Linked DNA regions of Homo sapiens: region 1 is linked to region 2. Evidence: promoter capture Hi-C in 16 types of primary human blood cells and fetal thymus (Javierre and others, 2016). All regions are on one chromosome and are shown on one strand. Each heading gives the region's core, a stretch centred on a gene start or on the middle of the fragment in contact. The rest is flanking DNA. Distances are from core to core; before and after follow the strand shown.

Region 1 (2,928 bases), core at 233-2,732, 270 kb after region 2:
TGGACAAGAAACCCCCAGAAAAATACCCTGTATAAAACTGTGTTTCACCACGCAATGTAGTCTAAGAATTTTCTCCTGCCTTACAAAATCAAAACTATAATTTTAACCTAGGAACCACTGACCCACTGACCGGAAAACCTTATTTGTCTGTTGACAACAAAAACACAAGTCCAAAGTCAATTCTAAGCACTATTTCTGCTAAATATTAGATTTGAAATGCCTTCATTTTTCTTGAATAAAAAGATGAATGGACAGGTAAATAAAAGGAGGAACATAATTAGCTGGGCACATTCTTCTAGCTTCCTGCACCAGATGTTTGGACAGGATTTCAAAGAGAAGAAAAATCAGGGCTTGGGTAAGGTGGTGTAACCAGGACTCAGGATCCTACATACCTACCTCCTCCCTCTGATACGGGACTATTGTTTTCCCTTCTTTCCATTTACTGAGTTCTCTCTGGGGTCATCTAAAGGGAAAGGCCAGAGAACACACACTGGGCCTACAGAGGAAGAGCTTCATTCTGGAAAACTGCTGGTGGTTGCGGGTATTTCAAACCAAGAGAAGTCAGCAGAGGCTGATATTAAGAGGCATTGCTATAGTTTATGGAAAATGGTCAGTCAATTAACAAGGTAGAGCTAAATTTTTGGAAGTATATTTTATAAGTTTTTCTTTTTCATCTCTGCTCAGTATATTTATTTTTTGTATTTACTTCATTTGGCTTTTTGTGTGGCACTGGACTTAGCGCCAAGCAGTCCTGCAGGGGAAAGGCACTTCAGCATATTTTAGATAGTCCTCCTTTGAGGTACTATTCATTTGGGGACTCACATCAAACTACTGGAGGCCAGGAAAATCTAGATGTAACAAAGGTAAGTACTGAGACTTTTACCAGGAGGCCATCATCAGGAATTCTAGGAACTCACGGCTGGCCAATGGCATAGAATTATTTTGGTTGTTCCTACATGTGCAAGATGGGTACATGTACAAGGTTGATAAGATATAGATGGGAGTGAGTGAATCATAAAGCCTGAGGAACTAGAGAATCTGAGAAGGAGAGCAGTGTAAGGTCTTGACCCTGTTTCTCAGGACTTCCAGACTTCCCATATTGCCTTGAAACGGAGACAGAGCCCTTACCTCATATGGGAAGGGGCATAGCTTCCAGGTAAAGAGGTTCAAGAAGCCAAAGAAAGAAAAGTTGCTTCTTCTGGCCAGGATGAATGTAGGTGTGTGTATGGCTGTCTCTAGGATCAGAGATCAAAGGCTCCTCCAGTCACTGGCACTGCAAGTCCTCTCTGGAAGTAGAGATAGATGCAGACAGGCAGCTGAGAACCTAGGGCAGGATCCTGCAGAAGTGAGGAGCTGAATCTCTTCCAAAGTTCTCTCATTCACTGTCCTTGCGAGAAAGTCCTTACTGCTTTGGAATGGTTCTAGCTGAGTTCTTAAGTCCAGGTCCTCAGATTTCATATATTCCCCTCATGCTGTGTTTCATGATAAAAGAGGAGCACAGCAGGAATGTGAGAAAAGAGGTATAAGAAGAGCTGCTTAAAAGAGACCCACCAATGCCCAGCCTTACTGTCTCTGCGCCAACAGTGAGGCCTGTCCTGGGGGAGGGTTCATAGTCTCACCCTCTCAGCTGACATGACCTCCCCTGAAAATATTGCTCCAGGAAATGGGATTTTAATAAATCCCCTTGGGCATGTCTCCTGGCCTGCCATTTCTTCAAACTTTACCACCAAATGAGCTCTGAACCTTGAGGCCTTGTTCTGCCCGCCATGGGCTTGCTGTGTCTCACCACTCATTGGAGTCTAAGATCTTTCTCCTGCCTTACAAAACCAAAACTATAATTTTAACCTAGAAATCACTGACCGGAAAACCAGACAGAGGCTGTTTCTGACAAAATAGATAGTGTCAGTAACCAATCTGAAAAGCAACACCTCCCTGTCCAGCCCTCTGTCCAAAATATAAAGTCTGTCTCATGGGTTCTATAGATGCTGCCACTCACATATCCCTCTTTGTGCCACTAGCCTGGGCTATTACCAACTAGAGGGAGTTAACTATGCTTCTGTTAATATCAGGTCTTCCTTCACTGAGCTTTAATGAGGATCCAGCACTAATTTATTTTTCAGTTCTTTGTTTCTCCTTTCTACTCCCTCTTGTGTGTGTTCATTTGTTCATGGGCCTACATATTCTGTGATCAGTCAGCTGAGCTGCTCAGAGCTTTGGGATGATGACACAGCACCTGCTTGCACTCACTTCTGCTTTTAGTTCAGGCTTTCCCATCTCTCACCCAATTCTGTGCTTAATCTTCCTCATTCTTTAGTATCTCTTTAATCAGCCATTTCACCAGGAAATGCTGAAAATTTCTTCCGGAGTTATCATATCTTTTCTCTTTGAACTTAAAAAAAATAAAAATAAGTTTCCACTTTCTGTTTATATAAAATATATACTCAAAATTATTTCAGAAGTGCAACAGAAGAACTAATATAAAAATCTTTTTATTTTTTAATTATAAAAGGAATGTACTGAAAAGACGGTTTTAAACATGTAAATTATAAGAGCAGCATTATTCACAGTACAATAAAAATTAGAAACGACCTTTATGCCCATCAACAGTGGAATAGATAGATATGCACCAAAGGGTTACTATGTAGGAATCTAAACAAAGGAACCAGAGCATACAACAAAAAAAGCAACTTAGGAAACTAATATTAAGGGAAGCAAGAGACACCTTAGGATTATATATCGTGGTACTTCTTTTGCAGTGTTAAGAACTTAAGTGAAAATAAACTTCCTATAAATATGTGTACATTCAATAAAACTACATATAAATGAAGAAAGAAAATGATGGACATGAAATTTGCGTTAATAGTTATAGTGAAAGGAGGCAGAGAGCTGGACTGCTAAATGTGGTCGAGTCCAAATCTTCTACTACTT
Region 2 (2,920 bases), core at 174-2,673:
AGGCCATGATAGGACTTTGGCCTTCAGCTGAAGGAATTAGATGAGGGGGCATTAGTGAGCTATGAGCAGAGGAGTTATAGGATCTGCCTATATTTGAAAAGGATCACTGGCTGCTCTAAAAAGAATGGATTGTAGGGGCAATGGTGAGAAGCATGAGAAGGATCTGAGGCAAGGAGAACAGTTCAAAGGCTGTGGAAAAACCCAGGTGAGAAATGATAGCAGCTTAGACCAAGGTTGTAGTACTTAAGATGGTGGGAAATAGTTGGATTCTGGATATATTCTGAAGGCACAACCAGCAGAATTTCCTGAAGGATTACTTATGGAGGGAGGGGGAGAGAGAGAAAGAGAAAGGGAAAAAGAAGAGGGAAAGAGAAAGAAGGGGTTTGGAAGAGGTCTCAAAGCTGACTCCAAGGTTTTGGTGTGAGAAACCAGAAAGAATGGATTTGCCATTGACTGAGGTGGGAAAGACAGTGAAAGGAGCAGCATTTCTTTGGTGGGGAAAGGGTGGTTAGGAGCCTGCTTTTGGACATTTTAAGTTTGAGATACCTATAAGCTCTCCAGGTGGAGACATTAAGTAGGCAGTTGGATATACTAATCTGATTTCAGAGGAGAGGTGGGCTGAATTTCTTTTTTTATTTTAATCATCAACTTTTTTTTTTTTTTTTTTTTTTTTGAGATAGAGTCTCCCTCTGTCGCCCAGGCTGGAGTGCAGTGGCGCGATCTCTGCTCACTGCAAGCTCCGCCTCCTGGGTTCACGCCATTCTCCTGCCTCAGCCTCCCCAGTAGCTGGGACTACAGGCGCCCACCGCCACGCTCGGCTAATTTTTTTGTATTTTTAGTAGAGACAGGGTTTCACCGTGTTAGCCAGGATGGTCTCGATCTCCTGACCTCGTGATCCACCCGCCTCGGCCTCTCAAAATGCTGGGATTACAGGCATGAGCCACCGCGCCCGGCCTCATTCAACTTAATTTTTAAAAATTAGCCCCTCCATAAGCCCTTCCCCAAAAAATCCCCCTCCCCCCGTGCCAAATAGATGTTGAGCTCCTTGAGATCAAGGATTTTGTTTTATTCGGGCTTCTTTTGGGGAGGTGGGATAGGGTAGATGGATACGTTGGGGGTGGGGATGGGGGAGTACCAAAGACATACCAAAGACCTGGCACTAGTTTAGATACTCAGCGAATGGATATAAACACCTGCTTACGACACCCTCTGGATTGCTAGTCTCCCGAGTCAACCGTACTGCACGTGCAGTTCAGACCCCGCCTGGTCCTCTACAGGTCCCTGTCCCAGGCAAGCCTTAGCCCACAGGTTGAACCTAGTTCTGCCCCTCCAGGCTTGGGCTCTGCCCTCTCGGCCCCGCCCATATCGGACCCTGGCCCCTCCTCTTTCTGGCTCCCCCGGATGCTCCTGGCAAAGACTCGGTCCTTCTGGAATCTTGTAACGGTTCTAACAGCTGGGTGCGGGTGGAGCTGCGGGTGAGTCCTCGGCTCCGGATCCATTTCTCTTTGTTCCCTAGGACCCCCTCCCACAGAGTCCGCCTCCTCTTCCCCGCTCTCCCAGCCCCCTCCTTTGCCTGTTAACGTCTTCCCCTACCTGCATCCTGACCATCATTTGCTGTGCCTGCTCCTCGGCTTTCTGTCTTCACGACCTCCTTAGGCTGTGGGCGAAGACGTCATGGGACTGGGGCTCTGCTGCCTTCGAGTGACGACCTGTTAACCCGTTTTTCAGGCGATCGCCAGCTCGAGTGCAGATTCCTTGCTGTGACCGAGGTTCAGAGTGAGCTCTGTCGGTGTGTCAGTTTGCCTCTTCAGGTGATTGCACGTCTGTGTGCGAGTCTCTCCGTGTATGGGTGGCTATGATTAGGGTGAGCCTCAGACTGGAACTCAAGTCTAAGTTCATTCACTGCTCCAGCAGGCACTCTTCAATGAAACCTCATCAGCAGATCGGGCTCTCTTCCCTTGCCTTGCCTCCTAACCCCCCTAGGCCAGGTGAGGGGGACAGGGTACTGGGAGGTAAGAAGGAACTCTTCTGCAAGGAGGGCTCTCACGTCTGTCTTAGGCCTGCTCCTTACCAGAGTCTTTGGGGAAGCAGTAGGGAGGGCCTGAGGGTCTCAGGAAAGGCTCTCTGCTGGTCTGGCTCTGCTCTGTAGCTCCATCTATTTCCCTGTCCCAGGTCCTTTCTTCCTCCTAACCCCATTGACTCTGACCATCCCCTGCCCAGAGCCTGAGGTCCCTTCTCTGGCCCCTCTGCTGGGCTGGCCCATGCAGGTGAGGCCCCGCATCTGGCATCCTGGAACTGGCAGTTGGAGCCTGAGCTATGGGCAAGGTCACTTCGACAGCAGTTGAATGCCCAGCTCCTCATGGTCCCGGAGGAGAGGAGGGTAGGTTTGTCTTCTGATGAGACATCATCTGATTCCCTTAAGTCTTGGCACTCCATATGTGTCTTGGACAGCAAAGAACAGCCCTTGGCCTGCCAGCAGAAACAGAGGCAGTTCGTGAAGCCAGTGACTGAGTCAGAGCAGCCCACAGTGCTGGAACTCCTGCTAGCTGAGCTCCGAACTCTGTTCTCAGCTGTGTTGCAGGACAGTAGCCCTGCAGCTTGGCGCTATCTTCATGCAGTACTGGGTCTACTGCCTCCATATCGTGAGTTGCTAGTTGGCCACCTTGATTTGCTGCCCTTCCTGGAGCAGCTGTACTGCTGGGCACCCTGGGTCCAAACCCACCTCCATCTGGACCTGCTAGGTGCCATTGTCCAGGCCTTTCCTCCAGACAGCTCTTTGTTAGACAGTGCTTCCCATGCTGACTGCTGTCCCCAGAAGCGGAGGCTCCATCACAGGCCCCCATGCCCAGCTTGCCCTTTTGTGCAGGCCCAGTGGAGCAGGCAGCAAGTAAAGGAGGAGCTGGCCACCTGGCTGCGACCA

The links. Contacts are between HindIII fragments. The CHiCAGO score rates a contact against its expected background, and 5 or more counts as called.
Region 1: the fragment with the promoter of OR2AG2 here is called in contact with the fragment with the promoter of DNHD1 in region 2 in 4 of 17 cell types (non-activated CD4 T cells, total CD8 T cells, naive CD8 T cells and 1 more); the score reaches 7.8 in non-activated CD4 T cells.

What each region holds. Positions count from the first base shown.
Region 1 is chr11:6,770,494-6,773,421 of GRCh38, forward strand. It overlaps OR2AG2 (olfactory receptor family 2 subfamily AG member 2), which reads right to left and starts at 1,483. Exons shown (of 2, transcript NM_001004490.2): 1 at 1,129-1,483. The HindIII fragment of the contact is 9,473 bases long and covers 1-2,928 here.
Region 2 is chr11:6,495,857-6,498,776 of GRCh38, forward strand. DNHD1 (dynein heavy chain domain 1) reads left to right here and starts at 1,424. Exons shown (of 43, transcript NM_144666.3): 1 at 1,424-1,475; 2 at 1,729-1,811; 3 at 1,915-2,920. The coding sequence starts at 2,360. The HindIII fragment of the contact is 5,087 bases long and covers 1-2,920 here.